Linked DNA regions of Homo sapiens: regions 2, 3, 4 and 5 are each linked to region 1. The links are contacts of gene promoters, found by promoter capture Hi-C in blood cells and fetal thymus (Javierre and others, 2016). All regions are on one chromosome and are shown on one strand. Each heading gives the region's core, a stretch centred on a gene start or on the middle of the fragment in contact. The rest is flanking DNA. Distances are from core to core; before and after follow the strand shown. Region 1 holds the start of SAMTOR (S-adenosylmethionine sensor upstream of mTORC1). Region 2 holds the start of HBP1 (HMG-box transcription factor 1). Region 3 overlaps DUS4L-BCAP29 (DUS4L-BCAP29 readthrough). Region 4 holds the start of CBLL1 (Cbl proto-oncogene like 1). Region 5 overlaps DLD (dihydrolipoamide dehydrogenase).

Region 1 (4,719 bases), core at 1,291-3,790:
GTGAAACTCCATCTCAAAATAAAATAAAATAAAATAAAATAAAATAAAATAAAATAAATCTTATTTTTATTTTTAAAATAAAATCTTTATTTTATAATAAAAAATTTAAAATTTTTTAAATGAAAATTTTAAATAAAACATTTTTTAAATAAAAAATTTAAAGAAAATAAAAAGATTTCATTTTCTTTAAAATAAAATCTGGCTGTCCAATTGTTATTTCTTCGGTTGCTTTTCAAGAAAGTGTGAAGTCAAAAAGTAATTTTAAAAGGTAGGACTCTTCAATCTGCTTGAACAACAACAACTAGATAGTCTTAAATAAGTTCCTTTTATTTATTCTTACGTTGGTATTTTAAGTTAAATATTATACCAATAAGAATAGCTAGTTACGAAACAGCAGGAAATTCCACATATTTATTTAAAAAATAGACATGTTTTTAAAATCTCATTAATGACTTTGTAAATTGTAATACCTACCTTTGGTAAGGGTGCAATGAAATAAACACCCATAGGTACTAGTGGACATGGCATAAACTGCTACTATCTTTCAGAAAAGGCAATTTCATAATATACATCAAAACCCTAACATGTTTGACCCTTTGCTTCAGAAATTGAACTTTTAGGAATTTAGCCTGATGGAATGTATAATTAAAGAAATGGACAAATACTTGTGTGCAAATGTGTTTGTCATGACATTATCTGTAATACAAAAAAGCTGGAAAAAACATAAATCTACAATAACTGGGAATTGGTTAATGAAATAGTAGGCTATTCATACAATAGATTGCCACATAGGCATCAAGAAATATCCTATTTGAAATTAGTATATACAAACAAAGAAAAAATGTTAAGTTGTTATCTCTCAGTCCAGATGTCTTATTTTCTTTACTCTTTTCTGTATTTTCCAAATTTCCTTCAGTGAACATCTTCAGTTAAGAGGCCTTAAAAGTTCATTTGCTAGTATTATGCTGAAAAGTTCTTTTTTAAAAAATAAAACTACAGTTCAGCACAAGTGAAATTTAATGCTCTTTTTACTATCATTGTATCTTTCGAATATCTGCACCATTATTTGCCTTCCATATGTATTAAAATATGGAAAGAGCCAAAAGAGACATGTAATTCAAGCTCCCCTTTCTTCCCAAATGAAATTCCCCCAAATAAGACCACCATATTTTCAATTTATTAGGCACTTCCGCTTAACTTCTCTTCATAATTATAAGGAGTTCTTTTGAAGTTTATATGTCCTTGTCTTTGTGTTTGATCTGTCTCTTCACTGTGCTGTAGGGACACATCTTCCGCCTTTAAATTCCATCAATCTCCCTTCACCTCCCGCTTCTCCTGTGTCCTAGACAGTGTGTATAATTCTTTGCTCTTCAGCGTATTCAATATAAAGAAGGTAGCATATAAAACAGTTACATAATGCAAGCTTTATTCGTAGTTAGAAAATCATTATCAAAATGTTACCATTGCAATCATTTCCATAGACTGTCACGTAACCAACACCTGCAATGGGGAAGTGGTACACAATCCAACACAACTCATTAGGGGCTCTCAGTCTATTCAATCTCTGACACTCCAGCAGCCTCAGTACCACTTCAGGAGCCAATGCAGTCTACCTCTCTCCAGAGAGCAGTGTTCCACCTTTCTGGGACAGAAGTCAACAATCGCGTTCCCCAAGAGATGGAAAAGAAGTGGAGGAGGGTGAACAGGTTACCAAACCCACTTAGATACACTCCGCATAGACTAACTCTCCAAATTAAAGGACAGGAGGTCACCTGAGCTGACCATAAAAGCTCAGAGTGCTGATGCGAATAAGATCAGGGAAGGCTGCTTATTAACACCGTGGTCACTACAAAAGTTCTTGAGGGCATCTGCTGTGAGTTTTCCATCGTTCCTTATTGTCCTCCTGCATCTCCTGTTGCTTTTCTTGGCCCTCTCCTTTTCGCATTTTCTATGTCCTTTGCCCAGCAGTAGTACTGCAGGCATAAACCATTGTCGACCTGAGAATTAAATTAGCATTTGGTAGCCAGACCTCTCCTTGAGCCTTAGAATGCTTGTGTGCTTGAGGTCCCTGAAGTGTAACGTCATCTCAAAGCGCAAGTAACTAAAGGGAACCTACATGTGACAAGGTGCAGCGGAGGTTCAAGCAGAGCACCCTGGCCGCATCGCAACAGATTATAAAGTGTAGGGGATGAAAATGATGGAAGACATCAGAAAGCCGAGCTGTAAAAAAGCCCAAACTAAGCAAACTGAGACGCGCAAGCGCGTTGCTCACAGCTCGTCTCCCGAGGCCGAGCCACAGCGCCTGCGCACAGAATCCGGGGAGGGTGGGGAAGAGATGAGCACCCAGGCCTGGAGCTCCCACTGCCTCAGCCTCCCTATCCCCGCAAGCTCCGCCTCCTCCAGCTGCTCGCCTTCCCAAACAACCGGGTTCGCCGCCGGCGCTTTCTGCCCATTGGCCCTTAGCCTTTTCCGTTTCCGCCCAGCCCTCAAAATCCACCAATCAGTTTGCACTTTTGGGTGAGGGTCCACCTCCAAGGCTGTCGCTCCGGTTCCTCTGCCTCCTCTGGCTGCTGCCTCCGCAGCTCCCTCCTCCTACCCCACCTCCTCCATCTGGGGAGCGTCTGCGGGGGCCTGAGGGGCGGCGGCGGCGGCGGCGGCTGCGATATGGAGCCAGGGGCCGGCGGCCGAAATACTGCTCGTGCGCAGAGGGCCGGGTCCCCGAACACTCCGCCGCCCCGGGAGCAGGAGCGGAAACTGGAGCAGGAGAAGCTCTCCGGTGTGGTGAAGAGCGTCCACCGGCGGCTCCGCAAGAAGTACCGAGAAGGTAAACAGCGCGCTGAGTGAGGGAGGAAGGGGAGGCCTCATCACCCCCAACCGCTTGTCACCTCTTCCCTCCTCCAAAGAGGCCACCATTAAAATGTAAAGGATCTGCACGTCCCCCCAGCCGCTGCTGCTCTCCCGGGCCTGGTCTGAGCCCCCTAGTCGGCATCAGACGCGCTCCTCCCCGCCCCCTTTTCTTTGAGGGCCCTTCGGGAGAGTTCTAGGCCTGTAAAGGAATTGAGTCCCCACCCCCTCCAAGCCCCTGTCCCCAGCCGGGGTGCTGAGGTTGTTGTCTCGGCACACACAAACACATACACGCTCACAGAGGAGGTGGGGGTCGCTTTTTGCAAGAGACGCCGAGGTAAAACAAGACAGGTAAAATCCATTTGTAAAAGACGAAAAGAAACCTGAGTTGTCCCTCCTTTACGCTTGACCTACCGGCTGTACCATTTGCTTCCTTATCAGACCCCCTTCCTAGTACTTCATTCCTACAACCATGCCGAGCCTTCCTCGCATTGGCTTCCAGGGCTGGGAAGCCAGCAGGCCTTTTAGCTGACTGGACTTCACATTGTTAAAAGGGGGCGGGCTACACTCGTGGCCCCCACTCCCATTTCTTAAATACTTGGTCTTAACTGTTTATTTAGGCGATGAGGAAGAGATCTGGGCAGGTTCTGAAAATACCGTTTGTATTGGAAGCCTCCTAAAGACACCTGCCGATAAAGCCCACCCTCGGCTTCCATGGATGGGGTTCCGGTGAGAACCCCCTCTGTGGAAGCTCATAGGGGAAGAAGCCTTAGTGGCTTTTGCCTGTGCCTGAAGAGTGTTTATAGTTGGAGTCTACAGTTATCCTTGATATCTTTAAATATAGGCTTTTGTACACAGCTGTTTTATAAGATTTTGACAGTGAAAATTCTGTTTTCATAGGCTTGGGAGAGAGACTTCTCCTGAGTATCGAAATGAGGAAAGCTTTCCACTGGTTCTCATTTTAGCTTAATTGCAAACTGAAAAGTCAGCAGCCTTCTGGTGTTAGTCCTATACTTAGTTAATAATTTAGGATTAGAAGGAAAATTATGGCAGTGAAGGAATACAGACAGGTAAGATCATGTTACTGTTGATTTATACACACGTTTCAACTACTCTAGAAAGTTAAAACTAAGTATCCTTTGTTCTTTTGAATGTAGTTGATATGTTTCATTTTTCAAACTTTAAAGGTTTCTTTCCTTAGCAAATCAAGCTTAGCTTTTAATAGAGGCTGTTTAATCATCCCCAAATGGGGCTTGTAGTTATTGTTTAACAGATAGCAATAGAAAGAGTCTTATCAGACCTACTTAGGATGGTAAAATATGTTTTTTGAAAGAATGCTACCCAAACCCACAATTTAGTCAATAAAATGAGTAGTTACCATAGCAACAACTGCATCATTCTTGATATTCAAAGAATGCTCTTACATAATGGAATTCACTGTAGATTTTATGTTATTTGGAGAGATTAGGAAATAAATGGACACATTTTCCTGCAATTTATCCTGCTATTTTGTACAAATTTAAGTGCATCTTTCTAAAGAGAAAAATGACTAGCATAGAATTCCATTTCTATTTTTACCTTTTAATAATTTCATTATTCATTTATTCATAAATGAATAGGTTCCACTCAAATTAACACACTAATGTGGCATCTCTTCAAGTGCTGTTTATATGTGCTTAGTTCCCACATGTTTAACCATGTTTTAAGCCTGAGTATTAACCACAGGAACTCTTGTTTATGAGAATCGGAAGTTACCAGATCTAGAATAGATACATGGAGTTCATAAGTGAATGATCTAGTATGCTTCTGGGGAGTTAAAGTCCTGGCAGTTTAAACATTTGAATGAGACTATTCTTTAGGCGCTTTAATACCCTG
Region 2 (4,719 bases), core at 71-2,570, 5.8 Mb after region 1:
TGCCTCCTCCCGGCCCCCGCCCGAGACCCCCTAGCGCCGCCGCCCCGAAGCCCAGGTGAGCTCGCGGGAGACGCTGCTCCGGTGGGCTCGCCGCGGGCACCAATCGAACGGTTAACTGCCCCCACCCCAAGGGCAACCCTCCGAGAAGAAGGAACGAGGACCCGAGCCCTCCAGTCTGCCCAATCCCCCGCGCTCCTGCCCCTCCCTTCCCCACCCCCACCTCTTCCCTAACTGAAAGACAACAAACCTGCCGCGAAGTGCCGGCAGCCCAGGCGCGGGCCGCTCCGGCCACGACAACACCACCAGCAGCTCTCGTACCCCCTCTCCGACCGACGTCGGCCTCCCCCGCGCGGGTTACTGCTCCCGCGGCAGCTCTTACTCCTCAACCGAAACTTTCCTACTTACCAAACCCGTCGCCATTACCAAGTCTTTCAAGCTTCGTCTTCCCCCTCCCCTCAACCCCCTGGGGGTTGAGCCCCGCCCAGCTCTTTCGCCCTCTTATTGGACTGCAGAACTGCCATTCGGTTCTTCCCCTTTCCCATTGGGTGGTACCGTGGTCCGTCTCGGGGGGCGGGCATGTATTGACTTTTGTGTTGTGTTTACTGGAGAAGATGGCATGTCAATCACAAGAGTAAGTGCTTCGGATTGGACTATTGCCGAGAGTCCGGGGACCCAAGCCAAACTTTGTCCCCGAAATGGATTGTGGGTTCGTAGTCTCAAGCCTTGGTCCTTGGCTGTGGGAGACTGCTGGCCGGGGAAGAGCTGGACTACGTATCCCAGAGGCGCTCGCACAGCGCAGTCTTGATAGTAAACAAGAGTCATAGGGACACGTGTATCAGCTCGTTTGTTTTGGTGTCTGGGACAAAAGGGAGGGGGCGGAGGAAGGGAGTGTTTTAAAGCTTGGGCCTCTTCTTTTCCTCCGGGCCTCTGCTAACACTTAGAGCGGCCCAAGCCTCTTGCAGCACCCAATCCGGGCCATAAACAGCCAGAGTTGCTCGCTGCTCAAGAGTTTGGCAGGAGGCCAGGGTATTGTTTTAGTGCGAGGGGAAGGAGATGACTGCACCAGCGGAAGTACTGCAGGCTAGCGAGGGACTTGATCACCCACAAATCACGGCCCCAGGCACGAAGGGGTCGAAAGTGATGCTGGGGGCTGCACTGGCAGTGGGAAGAACTAGAAGTCCTTTCTCTTGTGCCTTGCCTCACCACTCCCAGGACAGCAACTTGAGATTGCCTTGTCAGCTCTGTTCAGTTCACCTAAGTTTGTTGAGCCGCCACCTAAGTGCCAGGAAGAGTGAGGCTGGGGGATGGACTGTGAGCAAGCGAGAAGCTGGAGTCTAGAGAATTTACAAAGCGGGGGCGGGGGCGGGCGATTACGAAATTGAGGCAAGTTAAAGCGGCATTTTCCATACTGATTAGTATGCTCGTTGGTTAACGTAATACAAAGGGTGTAATGTATGACGTAAACTGATTTAATTTGTGAATCATTATCAGTAAGTTTCTCTGGTGAGTTTTATTAACCCTCTTTTCCTTCTAGACGTTTTCTCATTGATGAAAGAAACTGTCTTTCCACTTCATTTCCACTAGGAGTTCCTCAAGTTACGAATTCTCTGACTCACCAGAGACGCTTCCCTGCTTTATAGTTAACTTCTCTTTAAACATGGCTGTCCATTCACAGTCGGCTGCATCTAGTCAATAATTGGTGTCTTTACCATTCACATTACAAAGGCATGATTAAGCTTTTTCCCCCCTTTGAACCTTTAGTGTTTAATCATTTAAATTGTGCTTTAGATTTTCTAACTTTAGATCACTAAATATATGCTTAGAATTAAGATGAGGAAAACCTACATTAGTAAGAAATCTGTAAAAGCAAACCTTTGGACAGAGCCAGAAATCACACAGCTAGTTATTTCTTTAAAACCTCCTGCATTTCTTGGATTTTTAAATATACCTGAAAGCCGCGTAACAAATCAAGAAATCCAAAATAAGCCCCCACATGTTGAAATCGAGTTTAAAATTCTTGAGAATTCCCCATTTGAATCCGTGAAGTGAAATTATAAAGTAGTCCTCCCGTGTAATCAAATACTTACTTTCTATGTTCACAAATAGTAATAAAGCATTCTATTTTTTATTAAAATAATTCAGAGGAGAGCCAACAGAATGCTTAATTTTTTCCCTGAGGAAAAAGGACAGGATTTGAATTTATCATCTTTCAGAAATTATTAGTGACTCAAAGAAATGAATGTCTCTGCTACTTTGTGTATGCTTTTTTTTTTTTTTTTTTTTTTTACAATGGAGGGTCATCGTGTACTAGAATAGAAAATATAAACTCTACTCCAACATGTAATTTCTTGACAAAAAAGAAAAATCTGTGAAGTTCACCTAATTATTTAAAATTGTTTTGAGATATTTATGTCTAACTCCTCCTAGAAAACTAAAAAACTTTTCTCTTAAAAAAAAAAAAAAAAAAGAGCTGGCAAGAGATTGACATACTGCTTTACCCCTCTCCAGTACACAAACTGTGAGATCTGCTTTCAGCTAAACCTTGTTTTTAAAAGTTAAACTATTTTAAAGTTTTTACCAAATGCCTTAGTGGTGATTTTTTTTATCGGGGGACACCGGAAATGGGGAAAAAAAATTCAACTTTAGATCCAGATATTGTACAATATGTTACAAATAATAATTTATCCTTTAATAGCTCCATAAAGCCTTTTCCATTCATTCAGAAACGTTTAGTTCCATTTTTTGACCACTGTGCCAATTATTGAGAATAAAAAGATAGAAAACATTTTTTGCACACTTTTTCTCATTTTTATCCAAGTCTTTAATATGAGTTAAATTTAGATAGTTTAGTCACAACTGATTAAATACTAGTATTAGAATTCGCTACACCTTTAAGTGGACACTTAGTCCAATCTTCTGACTTCCGTGGGGGGCTAAATGACCACATTAGTAGCTTATGTGTATTTACCAGAGACATCATCATTAATTGAGTGACCAATAAAACTAGCCAACTTATAAGCCAGAACAAAGATCAAAGTACAAAACTAGTAAGATCTCCTTGGAAATTTTTACATGTGCTAATTATACTCTCAGACTAAAACAGATATAACTACAGTTTTTAACTATCTTTCAGATGTTTCCATGATAAAATTGAAGTTAAAAAATCAGTTACTTTAAATAACACCTCTTCTTGATTGGTACAGTCACCATATCTATACACACATATACACACATAAAATGTATGCAAAAAAATGTCAAGAAATTGTCAAATCAAAATGTCTTTCCAGCGGTTTGTAAAGTTACCTCTGTTATCTTAAATATCAAGTTCTAATTTGTTAGAGATAGTAAAAAACGAACAGAAGAAAAACAAAAAACCGGTAAATCCTATTTAGGAGTGAAATAATGTGTTTCCCTGATTCCACCATATTTGACACACCAATGACTGCTTTGCTTAACTACAGAGAAGTTCAAGTACATGCATTGCCTGATATTGAAAATAATCACTTTGAATTGTCAAAAGGTAAACAAATGAAATCACATGAACAAGTACTAAATGGAGAAATTGAACACATGTATGGTCTAAGTACTTCTCAAAGTTTTCAGACAGCATCTTGAATGTTTAAACTCCAACAAATATCCTTCCATATACCTTACTATCCTTTCAAATGAGTTAATTTTCTAATTAGTTCAAAGTACTCAGGTAATTCAGTCAAGTTGTAATGAAATCCACAGGAGCTAATGATGGCCATTGTAGAAGTGAGTCATCTGTCTCCTGTTCCTGTAGTTCTTGATGCAACTGAAGTTTAGATTTTGCTCCGATGACCAGAAAGCAAGACCTTTCTTCAGTGGCTGATAAGCTAATGTCTTAACACTATAACCACATTAGGAAGAAAAATCAACGTAAAAGGGAAGAATCAAAATGATTGTGTCTCCAGCTTGGGTAATTGCAGTATGTTGGGGAAGGGTGGTTATGTTGATGTTATTGACTGAGGGAATGCTGGAGAGGATAGCAGATTTGGGGACTGGGAGGAAGGGAAAGGATAGGTTCAACCTCGGGTGATAAGCATGCTGTGCAGGAAGAAATTTGAGTCCAGAGGTCCTTGGGCAGCTGAATATATTCATCTGGCATTTAGGAAGTCCAAGTCTGGAGAAATAAACCTGGGTATCCTCAGGACATAGAGAGGAGTACTCATTTTTTTATCCCAATTTTTCCCAAAAAGTTTTTGTCAAGTCTAATTTGGTATAAATGAAAATGTATTTAGAGAAGGCAACAATTCTATTTCATCTCACTCTCGATGTTTAAAATCAAGCTCAAATGACTATTCTCATGTCCTGCAAGTTTTCTAGAGATCATTACTGTTATCTGAACTATTTAACACAAACTCTCACATAGTATTTTCTACTCCCGTCTATTTGGTATCCTAGGACCTTCTCTATGTTTAGTTGCTAGCAAAAAGTACCTCATTTTAAGTGCAATTAAGTCAGATAAAGAGCAATTAAAATTGTAGGAATAGGGCGGGGCACGGTGGCTCACGCCTGTAATCCCAGAACTTTGGGAGGCTGAGGTGGGCAGATCACAAGGTCAAGAGATCAAAACCATCCTGGCCGAAATGGTGAAACCCCATCTCTACTAAAAATACAAAAATTAGCTGGGTGTGGTGGCACGCACCTGTATTCCCAGCTACTCGGGAGGCTGAGGCAGGAGAAACGTTTGAACCC
Region 3 (4,719 bases), core at 1,398-3,897, 5.4 Mb after region 1:
GCTGCAGAAGATGTATTCAGAGGTCAGATTATGAAAAACTGTGTATTATCTTTAGGTGCTGAAATTTTAGTCTTTAAGCCAGTAGTTCTCAACCTTTAACAAGCTCAGAATTACCTGGAGAGCTTTTAAAACACAGATTGCTGGACCACATATGTGGAATTTCTGATTTAGTACACCTGTAAATCTCCATTTCTAACAAGTTTCCAGATAATACTGATGCTGCTGGTCTGGGGATCACACTTTGAGAACAATGAGAGAAAAATTTACATGTTCAATAGGTCACTTTGGTCTCCTTGGAGGATAGTTTGGAATGGTACAAGACTAGAGGCAGTGTGACAGGAATCTACTCTAGTAGCCCTAGTGAGAGGAGAGGGTTTCAAAGTGACCTTACACTTTGGTATATACACTGATAGTTTGCAAGGCATTCAGTAATAACATGTAAAAAATACTTATTAAAAACACTAAAGAACTAAAGCTTCTTCACATAAAATCTCTAAATTGTGTTGTTTCTGATAAGATAGTTGAGTTTGTAAACAAATTTAAAAAGTTTTACAAAGTCAGTACACTCGGTTTCACATACCTTGATTTGTGGTAAATTCGCTGTCTCTGGCTTTTATAGATTTGACAAAATCAGCGGCAACAATCATTGGTGTGTAACACAGATCACAACTATATTTTCTTACTAGTGTCCTAAAAGCCAACCTGTGAGCATATAAAACCTTAATTATGCATTTAGAAACACCACAAACATATTTTAGTGCATTGTTAAATATTTATCAGAGAAAGTTCTACCTATGGGGAGATGGAGGAGATTTACTTTTCCCTATTATTCCTGTTAAGTATTACTAAAAACCTTGGATATTATATATAAAACAAACACAAGAAAATTTTGAAAGGTGAAGAAAAGATGTCCAGATAGGCTAGTGACCTCAGGACCTGAGGAATGACAGGGTGGTGAGTTCTCTGGGTTTTATTTTTGTCTCAAATATCCTAGACTTGAAGAAGCTGGCCACCTGGAAACAACAATGGATGCAGACAAAACCAGCCCCAACAAAAGCCTTCTCTAACCAAAGGACCAGGAAAATGTTCTGTCTGACCTAGTAAGACAGAAAACTTTTAGACAGTTCTACTCCAGCCAAATACTGTAGAAAAAGCTATGGCTTTATCTCCATTAGCAAAGGCCAAGTGGGAATCCTAGACTTCTACCCTCCAAAGGCTGTAACAAGGTGCTCCAACATTCTATTGATACCAAGGCCAGGTAAGGATCTGAAACTTTCATCTCTGGTGGCCACTGAGGTCACTCCCAGCCCAGTGGTATCAGTGGAGGCCACAAGGGGAGCCTGGACTTCCATGCCTGCCAGCAGTAATGAAGCACTCTTCTCCCTCCCTGCTTGGTGTGGTGTCAGAGGAGGCATAGTGGAGAGCCAGGACTTTCATTATTGCCCAGCACATATGAGGCTACCCTCACTATGGGGAACTGGAACTCTCATCACTGCCCCGCAGTAATGAGGAGCTCCTCACCCACCAGATGTCGAAGGAGGCCAAGTGGAGAACTTGGATTTCTATCAGATAGCAATGAGGTGGCACCACTCCCCTACATCATTCCCTGCTGGAGTGTTGTCAGAAAAAGCCGGTTAAAACAGAAGGTGCAATAGTCAAAATCAATTAATGTAATCCATCATATTAACAGGCTAAATAATAAAAATCACATGATCATATAGATGCAGAAAAGGCATTTGACAAAATACACTCATACATAGTTAAAAAAAAAAAAAGCTAACTCTTGGAAAACCAGAAGTAGAGGGAACCTGCCTCAGTTTGATAAAGTATATCCACAAAATTCCTACAGAACACTTTTGCCTTAGGAACAAGGTAAGGAAGTCTGCTCTTATCACCCTTATTCAACACGGCGCTGAAACTTCTAGTCAGTGCAATAAGGCATGATAAAGAAACAAAAGGCATATGATCAAAAGGAAGAAATCCAACTGTCCTTATTTGTAGATGACATGGTTGTTCATATAGACTCTGAAGGAATTTACAAAAAAACTAGAACCAACAAGTGAGTTTAGCAAGTTTTCAGGATATAAGATCAACATACAAAAATCTATTTCTATGTGCTAGCAATAAACATGTGAACACCAAAAATTAAAAATTCTATTTACAAACATGCTCAAAACCTGGGTGTCTTACAAAACATGTGCAGAACTTGTATGCTGAAAACTACACAATACTGATGATAGAAATCAAAGAAAATCTCAATCAATGGAAAGATATACTGTGTTCATGGATTGGGAGACTCAACCTAGTAAGAAAGTCAGTTCTTCCCAAGTTGAGGTATAGGTTTCACACAGTTCTTATGAAAATTCCAGCAGGGTTTTTTGCAGAGATAGACAAGGTCATTCTAAAATTTATTTGTAAAGCAAGGGAACTAGAATAGCTAAAACAATTTTGAAAAAGTAAATAAATTGGGAAGAACCAGTCTACCTGATTTCAAGACATATTATAGAGCTATATAGTAAAACTGTGTGGTATTGGTGGGGAAAAAGATACAAGATCAATGGAACAAAACAGAAAATGCTGATTTCTCACAAAGAAGCAAAGAATTAGCGGAGAGATAGCCTTTCTTTTTTTATTATTATTTTTGAGACGGAGTTTTACTCTTGTTGCCCAGGCTGGAGTGCAGTGGTGCGATCTTGGCTCACTGCAACCTTCACCTCCCAGGTTCAAGCGATTTTCCTGCCTCAGCCTCCCAGCAGCTGGGACTATTGGCATGCGCCACCACGCTGACTAATTTTTGTATTTTTAGTAGAGATGGGGTTTCACCATGTTGGCCAGGCTGGTCTCGAACTCCTGACCTCAAATGATCTGCCCACCTCGGCCTCCCAAAGTGCTGGGATTAGGATTTGATGGCGTGAGCCACTGTGCCTGGCTGATAGCCTTTCAAAAATGATGCTGGAGTAATTGGACATCCATAGGCAACCTAACCTAAGCCTCACACTTACATAAAAGTTAATGCAAAATTGATCATGGACTTAAATGCAAAACATAAAACTATAAAACTTTTAGGGAAAAAAACTTAGGAGAAAATATTCAGGATCTGGAGCTACATAAAGGTTTCTTATACTTGACATCGAAAGCACAATTTACAAAAGGAAAAATTGATGTTAGACTTCATTAAAATGAAACTTTTGTTCTGCAAAAGATCCTGTTAGGAGCATGAAAGACAAGCCATATACAGGGAGAAAATACGTGCAAATCACACATCTGACAAAGCAGAATATATATCTAGAGTATAATAGAAAACAAGAAAACAAACAAATGGACAAAAGCACTTGAATAGATACTTCTACAAAGACAACATACAAATGGCCAATAAACACACAAAAAGATGTTCAGCATCATTAATCATTAGGGAAATGCAAATTAAAACTGCAATGAGATACCACTTCACACCCATTAGGATGATTATAATAATAAAATAAAAACTCCCAGAACATAACAAGTGTTGATGAGGATGTGGAGAAATTAAAACTCTTGTTCACTGCTGGTGGTAAGGTAACATGGTGCAGCTGCTATGGAAAGCAGTACAGTAGTTGCTCAAAAAATTAAACATAGAATCACCATATGATCCAGCAATTCTACATCTGGGTACATAGTCAAAAAGAATTGAAAGCAGGGTCTCAGAGACCTGTTACGAACCATGGGTATTTGTATATGGGTATTTGTACACCCATAGTTCATGACAGTATTATTTGCAGTAGCCAAAAGGTGGAAGTTATCTTGTGTTCTATCAATATATGAATGGATATCAACAGATGAATGAACAAAATATACATAAAATGGAATATTATTCAGCCTTAAAAAGGAACAAGTCTGATATATGCTACAACATGAATGAACCTTGAGGATGTTATGCTGCATAAAATATTAGCAAAATAAATCCAGTTCTGAACAAATACGTATAAGACTTATATGAGGTACCTAGAGTAGTGAAGTTCATAGAGGGAGAAAGTAGAATAATGGTTGCCAGGGGCTGCTGTGAGGAACAGTGGAATGGGGAGTCACAGTTTAATGTGATAGAATTTCCATCTTCTAAGATGAAAAGAGTTTTAGAGATCAGATGCACAACAATGTGAATGTAATTAACACTGCTGAACTGTATACTTAAAAATGATCGAGAGGTAAATTTTATGTTACGTATATTTTATAACAAACTTCTAAAAAAACTCAATAGTAAAAGAGCAAACAATCCAATTAGAAGATGAGCAAAAGATACGAAGAAATATTTCTTCGAAAACTGAACACACAACTACCTTAGGACCCATAATTGCACTCCTATTTGTCCCAAGACTTAAGTTCACATAAAAATCTATACATCAATACTTATATCTATTTAATATCCATTATATACTTATAGGTAGGAGTTACAACCACCACCATTTTTATAGATATAAAAAGTGCAGCTCAGAGAAGTTAATTGTTTACTCAGGATCACATATATACTAGGCAAGTAGTAGCATCATGACTCAATTCTAAGTCATGATTCCAAAGCTAAGAGTTTGAAGTTCCCATATGGTGGGTGGTCTTACAGTACTTTTAAAAAGTCAGAGCATAAAAGGGAAATTTCATCTTAGTTCATTAATCATTTTGCAACACTTACTTTGAATATCGAACCATTGGGGCACAGACTTTTACCAGCTGTCCAGAATGAAACATTTC
Region 4 (4,719 bases), core at 849-3,348, 5.2 Mb after region 1:
TTATGATTTCCTAACATAATAGCCTCTAAACTATGGCAGGAACTTGACTCATAATTCCAGTAGTGGGCTCAAATAAGAATTACTTTCCTAAAGTTGAATGTTTGCTATTCTAACATCAAAATCCCAGTTTCAACTCTATAAATTCCCAAACACTGGAATTCTTTACAGCCTCGTTCTAGGCCGGCTTCTCCTCTGAACACACCCTTCTTAAGTGGTCTCATCTGTCCTCATGCTTTAAAATACCAGCTATAAATAAAGGTACTAACTTCCAAATACGTATTTTCAGTGCAGATCTTTCCTCTCATCTCCACTTGGCATCTCTCCTGTGTCTCAGTAGTTATCTCACACTAGCAGTCCAAGACCAAACACTTGTTCCCAAATTCCCGTCTCACCTCTACAAAAAAAGATTGTTTTCTGCCCCAAGTTTTCCTCAGCTCAATAATGGACCCTACCTAGTTGCTCAAACCAAAAGCCTAGGCATTTCTCCTTTCTCTCACATTCCTTCAAACACCACCAGAGTATTTACTGAAGCTGCCCATTCTCCTTCATTTTCACCAAACCAACCTTCCCTTCCCGTCTACTGCAATCAGCTATTTTCCATCATTCTTACCTCCCTCTCTTACACCATTCTTCATAGAACAGCCTATTGTATTTTTTAAGAGACTGTGTTCCTCCTCCACTTCTGTTCAATGGCTTCATATTCACTTAAATTAAAATTCAAACGTTTACCACGGCTTTCAATGACCTGAATGATGTGCCTGCTGCCCTCCTTTCCAATCTCACTTCAGGACTCCTACCCTCTGGCTATTAGGAGGCTGCAGCTGACTTCACTGTATCTTCCTACCTCAGTGCCTTCGCACTTGCTGGAAATGCTCTTCCTCTTGCTTTTTTCCCAGGGCTGGGTTCTTCTCATCCATCAGATCTTAGCTTCCACAAAGACCATTCCTAACAACCCTCTCTGAAATTTCGTCCTATGAATCTCTCCACAGCACTCGTTTATTTTCTTCAAAATAATCCGCAAACATTAAAAAAATAATAAATTTAAAAAAAAAGAACGTATTGTCTGTGTTCCTCCATAAAACAGAAGTTCTATCACGGACCTGGTCCGTCTCGTTTACCATTCCATCTTCCATCTCCCGACCTATAGATATCTGCATGTATCTTGCATAAATAAACATACACACCTACATAAATAAACATACACACCTAATTATATAACCAAGTAGATATCTGATGAGTGAGGACAACTCAATACTCAAGAAAAAGCCTTTTTTTCTCTATTTGTGATACGGTCGCTATAAATGTATGGGGCACATAACTCCAAGAGCACTCATTCAATATCCAAGAACCACAAAGAAGCAAAAGCCAGAAAATACATAACAAAGGGTGGAGCCACTCTTACTTGGAGAAAAGTATGAGAATGCCTTGATTTTAAACTCCTCTTTGTAAATACCCTCAAATGATGAGTAAGGACCTCAGCCGAAGCGCGGGGCATGCTTTTGGTTTAGGTAGAAAAACTGCTCCGAGTTTGATTCCAAAAACTCTATCAGACTCCCTTCTTTCACCCCTCTAGTCCATAAAGGATCGGAGAGACGACAGGGGGTGACCACTGCAGCACCCGCCCAAAGCTGACTGAGACAGCAGGAAGTCTCCAACCCATTCTCGCCCGTCCACTCCCAGCGTAAAGAGGATTCCGCGACTCGGAGACCGCAATCTACCCGCCAGTCTCCATAACGTAGGCCAGAGCAGCTGGGCTAAATAAAACAGAGCCGGGGCTCTCCCTTCCCGAAGGCCTACATCGCCCACTGGTCCGGGCTCGGAGCTCAGCAGAACCAGAGTAGGAGCGGTTGTTGCCGGCACGGAGGAGGTAGGTACCACACCAGACGGTAGGCCAGGAAACCGCAGGCCCCTGCCGGGCACAGGAAGGCATCTGTGAGATTTCTTCTCACTGCCACACCCTAGTGTTGTGGGGCGAGCATAATCCCTTTTGCCTGCTGTGCGACCAGCCCCAGGCCGGCCAAGGGGGCTTGGAACCGGGACCCCCACTGCCTCCGCCTCCTTACCAGTGTGATCCATGATTCGGCTCGCAGAGCACAGTGGGAGCGGAAGTCAACCGCGCCGGAGTCGCAGCGAGCGCGTGCGCACTGCCTTCCGGAGGCCGGGAGGCGGAAGTCCAAGCAGGTTGTCCCAATTTTGGCCTGCAAAGACTTCCTTCTCTCGCCTCTACTATCCAACTCCTGTGAGGGACTCAGGCATAGTTCGGGCGGAGGCAGAAAGAGCGAGCGCGCGAAGAACTTCGGTATTGAGGTTGCTAAGGCTTCTCCTCATGTGCTTCAAGAGAAAGTAGCCTTTAACTGTGGAAAGGACACCAGGGGGACCGGGGAAGGGGAGAGCAGTGGTAAAAATGAGCCAGAAGCAGATAAGGCGACTGCCCGCCCCGCGGAGAGCTGCCTTCTGGGACTTGTAGTGCGCGGGGCCCCCGGAGCCGGCTGGCTGCGCAGGCTCGGCCGTTGCGCTGGCCCCACCCCGGCGGGCGGAGTAACGGTTTGGAATCCCCCGGGGTCAGCGAGCGCTTGTTTCCTCCGCCTGGTGTAGCAAAAGTGTAAACACGCGCGCTCCGGAAGGCGCCCTCCAGTGGGAGGTTGCTCAGGGGATGGCGGAGCTGTGAAACTCGGAGCTAGAAGGAAAGTCTCAACGCTTGTCTAAATTTTGCTTTGTCGTGACGAGCTACCTAGACCCACGCAGAGCTAACTTGGTATATGCCCCGGTTCCCATCTCTTAAGTCTCTTTACAGTTGAAACACGTTTATAATGCTTGACTGCCACTCACTTTCTAGGGAGAGCGCTTGTGACGCTACGAACCTCTCGAACACCTGACGACTGGGCGCCAGGGCCGGATGGAGGGTGGAGAGCCAGTGCGGCGCAGCTGCCTCCTCTTAACGGGGACACCTTGCAGGAATGTGCGGAGTGGAGCTAACGGGAGCGGATAGAAACCGAGGGAGGGGAAGAGAGCGCGAAGGCTTGGCCGGAAGGAGAGGTTAAAAAGGAAAGGCCTAAAATGAGGAAGAGAGTTACCACAACAAGCAGTACCTAGTTCCAGTTCTTGGTCCCAGGAGTTTGTGGTTGTTGCTGCTTTCATCTTCCTCAGCCAACACAAAAGGAAAGTGCCAAGGGGCGATTCCTAGGACCTTCAGTGCAGTCTCCACCTTGCGGACTTGGCTCATTTGTGTCCACTCCTTTCTCCAGCCTTTTACACTTGATGCTCTTGGATGAATAGAAAGGAGCACAATTAATGGAAAACACAAGCTTGGGAGTCAAGGGATTTGGGTTCTATTCTTGTCCTCCCTTGGTGACGACATCATTACCTTGGGTTATTCAAGCTTTCAGTGCCAGAGTTCCTATATCAATAAAAGATTATTACATTGACCTCTTAGAGAAATGTTTTCATGGTACTGAATTGCAAATAAAGTATGTGTAGCGATGTGTTATATCTTTGTAGTTGTACGGTATTATTTGTGAATCATGCTGTGATGATCAGTGCGATTTAAGTGCACCATGTTATTTGGTGATTATTTTCCTGAGATCTTGTAAAAGATTTTTCTGCTCTATATATGCAGCTTTATAAACAAGTTTTTAGGTACATTCACAACTAAGGACATTTGTGAATCAAAATTACCCCTGCTTTTTTTAAATGTAAAGTTCTGTATTGCTAGGTGGTTTTCAAGATGCTTTCAGTTTCTGGGATTATTGTTTTGGGCATTGGGGCTTGCCTAACCTTTTTCCCATACCTCCCTATTTTTCTAAATACAGTGTTGATATAGTCAGGCATTTTTCACCAATTTGGGTTTTTTTTTTTTTTTTAAGTTTTCACTTAGAAAGTACTTCTTTTTCATATTAAAAAAATTTTTTTTAGAGATGGGGCAGCCCAAACTGGAACACAATGGCAGAATCATAGCTCACTGCATCCTTGGACTCCCGGGCTCAAGGGGTCCTTATGCCTCAGCCTCCGGAGTAGTTGGGACTACAGATGCTCATCACCACCACTGGCTTTGATTTTTTTGTTCTATCATACTTAGCCTATCAGCTAACGGTTAACCTTCAGATTCATGGAAATCCAGGTTCAGAATAGTATTATTAATGTCTGCTGATGCTAATATTTAAATAATTAGAATTAAAAAGAGCTTTCAAATTGTATTTTATATAATTTAACCTGTAAGTTAGAAGTTTTGTTGGCATTTTATGGTGCATCAAGAAAATTTACTGAGAGAAGATGTACTTACTTTAGATCTGATAAAATGTTAAACATTTGTTTGATTTGATTTGACATCTCTTACTTTCAGGCATTGCTTTAGCATCTGTGGTCTGTATTTACCCCCTTAATTGTGGTTGCCTTGAATTACCAATGCAGTAGCAGTGTGATAAATTAATTTCTTTACCTATGTTTTATTACTGCCCTCTAGTATCTCTTTTCAGCGACCAGCGTGCTGTAACCAGTCACAATTTCTTTATCAAGAGTTGCCATTAATATTTATTTATAGAGCATAAGGTTTATATTGCTTATATATAAGCTATATATAGTTTAGGTGCTGACCTAAGGTTTATAAAAGTGAAAACTTACTGTAATGGGCAGTCTGAAGCACTGAGGTGCACCTTTTTATCTTACTGGCAAGACCATCTACTACCTATGAATTATAAGGTAGTGGTCTCCAAGATGTTTTGA
Region 5 (4,719 bases), core at 810-3,309, 5.0 Mb after region 1:
CCCAAAACTGTTCAGCCTCTGAAATCAATACTCTACTTTCTAGTCATAACCTCCTGGTCCCTAAAGAAGAAATATAGTAAAATAAGAAATGATCTGAAGTAAAACAGACCTGGGTTCCAAACTCTAACCCCGTTAAGTTCTTGGGCAAATTACTCAATCTCTCTGGGCTTTGATACAACATGGGGGTAATAGTAAGGATGACACCTGCAGCCTAGGGTTGTGAGGATCAGAGAGTACGCATGTTAAGATCCTAAGGAGGTGCTAGGTGCATACTAGCAACTCAGTGTCACTCCCCTTCTCAGATCCACCTCCAAACTTCAGTCCAGCAGCCTCTAGCCTCATTCACATCCTCCATTTTAGCCTACCCAGTGCTACCGCAAAGCTAAAACCCAACTCAGATGTTATTCTCTCTGTTGTTACGCTCTGTTGGTTCTCCAGTGTCTTGTTAGATAAAGCCCATGTTCCTAAGTACAGCATCCAAATTCCTTCAGTAACTATTTCTCCAGCCTCATCTCCTACCACGTTCTGTTTACTCACCAATACCATGCAGTTTAAGCTTCAGTAACGGTGAATTACTACTCTTAGCCTACATGCATAGAATTATGCTGGTCTACCTATGTACGATCTGTTCCATCTACCTAGAAATAAACACTAACAGCAGGCATTTCACATTACAAACACTACTTTAGGCTCTTGGAGGGGTGTGTCTGCACATGCTGTGTCTGTGTGTGTGTATATATAAATGACATAGCCCTATTTCTTACAGTCTAAATAAAAAAAAGAATTACAGTAAAAGGTCCAACCTGTAACGAGAGTTACTCTCAACCTTTTTAGCTATCAACATAATTCCTTAGGAAAGAATTATGTGACCATTCCCAATCCATATATAGATGTCATTACTCCCTATGCTTAAGTCTATGGACCCCTGTCACAATTATATGTTGGATGTTTGTCTCCCTCAACTGAATTGTAAGCTCTATAAAAGCTGGGTCTTGTCCGTCTTGCTCACTGCGGTACTCCAGTAGTTAGCCCAATGACTAACACATAGTAGATATTAGTATTTGTCGAAATAATAAAAGAATGAATGAATGTAGTGAATGTGAGTGATATAAGTGCTGTAAGTTTAAGTGTTACAAGTTTGATTAAGTGCTGTCATGAAATAAAACGTCACATCAACAGTAACACACACAACTTTGCAAATTCTGATGAACCTGGTTCATAAGGCTATTCAGACATCTCTCAGATGTTGTAACCAAGACTATATCATAATAAGATTTGAACTCCTCAGGAGAGTCAATCAATACTCATGTAAGGAAGAAAACTCAATAAAACATTAACAGTGTAGGCTCTGAAGTCAAAAGGATTCTCCCAGCTCTGTCATTTCCTAGTTAAAAAACCTAACTCTTCCATCTATAAAATGGGGAGAACAGCAGCACACAGGTAGTAGAAAGGCCATGAGGATTAAATCTGTGCCTGAGACAGAGTGAAGCCCTCAATGCATCAGTTAATATTATTGCTGTTGTAGCTGGTTACTTACTTTGTACAAGACACCATACTGGATGCTTTGCCACAGAGCAGTAATTAAAACAGACCAGGCCCCAGTGTTCATTCATTCAATAAATATGTACTGATTACCTACTGTATCACTTTAGATACTAAACAAAACAGTCACACACAGTCCCTGTCCTGATGAAGTTTGCATTCCTGAGGAAAAGACAGTAAGCATGTACCTCAGATAAAATACAAGTATGTGTGTAAAATGCTTGTTACTGCATCCACTCAAAGCTTTTACACACTTTACACACATGGGTACTAAGTGATTTATGATTTACTCAATGTCAAGGGATCACCAAACTGATTATGGAACACTCAGCCTCATTCCACTAAAATCTAAGTTCTGGCTCAGGGTCTGCCTGGCAAATAGAAGGCACTGAATAATCTCTGCTGAGTGATGCCAAAGGTATAGAGTTAGCCATGAAAAATATCCTTTAGAAATGAAAATCTAACATTTCTCCTGTTATATGAGTTGAGAAGAATGAGATTCCTATTTAACAAGAGACAAAGTGTATAAGAGGTCCAACTTTTCCCTTCATCATCATATTAGCATTTTTTTAAAAGGATTTCTTGACCTGTTCAAAGCTAGAATAAATCACTCACTCACTGTTAGTCATGGGTTACTAGAATCCTCCCCCTACCCTTCCTCTAGAAATAAAATATCCAAAATGATAATGGTTGGATAACAGTTGAGGATACAGGATTAAATTACTTCACAGAATGCAGGGAGACTGATAGTCACAGTTTGCCCAGATAATGATTTCTATAACTGAAGCTTTAAGACATCCAATGTTACTTATAATCCATATGGGTGAATTCAGTAAATGTCAAAACAGTACATTGCAAATAATCAATATCCTTGGTACTGACAGGTCAAAATACTTCAATATAATCCTATTAACTTTCTGTTTTAAATACTTAAAAAAATAAAATGCATATCCTTTATGGGAACTTCAAAAATATAAAAAAAGTACACAGGAGAAAATTCCATGACCCATAGCTTCCTTTTAGATCCTGCTAATCTTTAAAACATGCTTTTGATAAACCCATGAAGACTTTCATTCAGGATGTCAAGAAAGTCATCTCATCATTCTAAACAGTGTTAAAATAACCAATACAACCTTACTCAACGGACAAAATTAACTTTTTAAATGTAAACATATGAAATTGCTGCCCTGCTCAAAACCTTTGTTTCCCATCATACTTGGAGTATAATCCAAACTACTAGACCTGCCTTACAAGGCACTCCATGATCTGTCTCCTGCCTACCTCTCCGACTTTACATTGCATGGGTTTCTGCTCCAGTCATACCAGCCTTCTTATTACTCCTTAAACTTCACAAGCTAAGTCCCACCTCAGGCCTTTCTCAGTGTTGTTTCCCTCTGCCTGAAGTAACCTCACTCCCCCACTTCACTCAGGACCCTGCCCAGACATCATCTCCTCAGAAAGGCCTTTCCTGACACTGTATCTAAAATTATCTCTCTTCCTCCCTATTACCTGCTTTAATTTTCAGTTACTTCCCAAAATATTTATCCATTACTTATATATTGTTTGTCTTTTATCACCAAATTACAAGTTTCATAAGAGCAGGGTTTTTTTACCTTGTTCACCGCCTGGAACACACTAGCTCAATATACATTCAAACGAATAAATACATGAACAAATGAACTATAAGACACTTAACATAAGTTATTCCAATATTCACTTGCTTTTACATTGAAATAGAAAGGAACTGTCAGCTAATGTGATGAAAAAAATGTTTTACTTAAGTACTTACTCGGCTGATCTGCGTAAGTTCTCAGAGGCACTGCAGAAAGTCCCTGTAGGCCATGAGATATTCGATTGAAATGGCCTCTCTAGAAAAAGAAAATGTCCCTATTATGTAAGATATGAATTCAAAACATAGAACTACTGAAGGTTGATGATAACAGAACAATTTTGGGCAAACGTATCAAGCGAGGATTATTAGTGTATCTTCTTCCATTGCCACACAGAAGCTACAGATCAATATCCCCTCTTTGACAATAACTAATCATTTAAATTTTTCAGCCTCAGCTTGCCACACCCATCTTTTTATTATCAATAGTCAACAAATCATCTCATATTTAACTTAATTTTAAAAACGTATTCAATGGTATTTTTATTCAATTTTCAGAAAACATGGCTAATTATTAGTGCCAGGGATCATTTTAATGTCATAAAGCTCTGAGCCGGCCGTGGTGGCTCACGCCTGTAATGCCAACACTTTGGGAGGCTGAGGTGGGCGGATCACCTGAGGTCAGGAGTTCGAGACCAGCCTGGCCAACATAGTGAAGCCCCGACTCTACTAAAAATACAAGAAAATTAGCCGGGTGTAGTGGTGGGTGCCTGTAATCCCAGCTACTCGGGAGGCCAAGGCAGGAGAATCACTTGAACCCGGGAGGCGGAAGTTGCAGTCAGCTGAGATAGTGCCATTGCACTCTAGCCTGGATGTCAGAGTGAGACTCCGTCTCAAAATAAATAAATAAATAAATAAATAAATAAAGCTCTGAAAGTTCTAACTTAAATACTTGAATAATCTATACATGATAATCTTTTTACCTGTAATTTTTGTTTCCTAACTCTAAGCTAGCGTGTATATACAGTCCGTATTTACTTAGAACAATCTATGAAGATGTTCCTGAGACATCAACTAGGAATAGCAAATTAGACAAGGTAACTTAGGAAAATGCACCAAGTAATGTACTTACGTTCTGGTGCTACTACAGTTTGACAAATTGCATCATAATCTCCCTAATCTCTATATGTGGACGGCTACCATTTCCTAAGGGCAATGAGGCAGAAAGCAAGCAAGCAAATAACCCCTGCTCACAGCAGGAAAATGGGCGGCAGTGACAAAACCTACACTGATGTTTCCTATTCCAAGGCAACTCTTAACATTTGAGGTCAGGACAGCAAACCCAAAAAGCAGCAGATTGACAATCCTGAGTTTCAGTCCCACCTCCGCCGCTCCCTAAAAGCATGACTTGCAGAATGTTACATTAACTTTTGAGAACTCAGGTTCCTCATCTCTGAAACAAAAGGGTTTGATCGCTATATTATTTTTAAGGTCTCCACTAACATAGTACCCAGCCACGGTGCCACATACACACAATTTGGCTGTATCTGGTAAGCAGATTAAAAAGG

What was found. The method cuts DNA at HindIII sites, captures the fragments that hold promoters and counts their contacts. A CHiCAGO score of 5 or more calls a contact.
Region 2: a fragment that was not itself captured here is called in contact with the fragment with the promoter of SAMTOR in region 1 in 2 of 17 cell types (fetal thymus and naive CD8 T cells); the score reaches 5.6 in fetal thymus.
Region 3: a contact is called between a fragment that was not itself captured here and the fragment with the promoter of SAMTOR in region 1, in 1 of 17 cell types (fetal thymus). The highest score is 5.2, in fetal thymus.
Region 4: a contact is called between the fragment with the promoter of CBLL1 here and the fragment with the promoter of SAMTOR in region 1, in 3 of 17 cell types (total CD8 T cells, fetal thymus and naive CD8 T cells). The highest score is 11.0, in total CD8 T cells.
Region 5: a fragment that was not itself captured here is called in contact with the fragment with the promoter of SAMTOR in region 1 in 3 of 17 cell types (fetal thymus, total CD4 T cells and activated CD4 T cells); the score reaches 7.2 in fetal thymus.

What each region holds. Positions count from the first base shown.
Region 1 is chr7:112,937,696-112,942,414 of GRCh38, reverse strand. SAMTOR (S-adenosylmethionine sensor upstream of mTORC1) reads left to right here and starts at 2,540. Exons shown (of 5, transcript NM_152556.3): 1 at 2,540-2,824. The coding sequence starts at 2,665. RefSeq lists enhancers at 2,072-2,411, 2,066-2,582 and a silencer at 2,612-2,711. The HindIII fragment of the contact is 2,363 bases long and covers 1,426-3,788 here.
Region 2 is chr7:107,164,714-107,169,432 of GRCh38, reverse strand. It overlaps HBP1 (HMG-box transcription factor 1), which reads right to left and starts at 430. Exons shown (of 11, transcript NM_012257.4): 1 at 248-430. RefSeq lists silencers at 211-310, 329-902 and an enhancer at 621-780. The HindIII fragment of the contact is 837 bases long and covers 902-1,738 here.
Region 3 is chr7:107,567,128-107,571,846 of GRCh38, reverse strand. It overlaps DUS4L-BCAP29 (DUS4L-BCAP29 readthrough), which reads right to left. Exons shown (of 13, transcript NR_163941.2): 3 at 4,661-4,719; 4 at 581-702. It overlaps DUS4L (dihydrouridine synthase 4 like), which reads right to left. Exons shown (of 8, transcript NM_181581.3): 3 at 4,661-4,719; 4 at 581-702. Among named protein-coding and RNA genes, the nearest start is that of DUS4L-BCAP29, 5.5 kb to the right of the region's middle. The HindIII fragment of the contact is 4,339 bases long and covers 478-4,719 here.
Region 4 is chr7:107,741,521-107,746,239 of GRCh38, reverse strand. CBLL1 (Cbl proto-oncogene like 1) reads right to left here and starts at 2,098. Exons shown (of 6, transcript NM_024814.4): 1 at 2,064-2,098. The coding sequence starts at 2,076. It overlaps CBLL1-AS1 (CBLL1 antisense RNA 1), which reads left to right and starts at 1,659. Exons shown (of 2, transcript NR_144537.1): 1 at 1,659-1,867; 2 at 2,837-3,487. RefSeq lists enhancers at 1,624-1,803, 2,154-2,373, 2,471-2,989, 2,990-3,509 and a silencer at 2,414-2,613. The HindIII fragment of the contact is 5,122 bases long and covers 1-3,307 here.
Region 5 is chr7:107,891,891-107,896,609 of GRCh38, reverse strand. DLD (dihydrolipoamide dehydrogenase) reads right to left here. Exons shown (of 14, transcript NM_000108.5): 2 at 3,332-3,410. Among named protein-coding and RNA genes, the nearest start is that of DLD, 3.1 kb to the right of the region's middle. The HindIII fragment of the contact is 544 bases long and covers 1,788-2,331 here.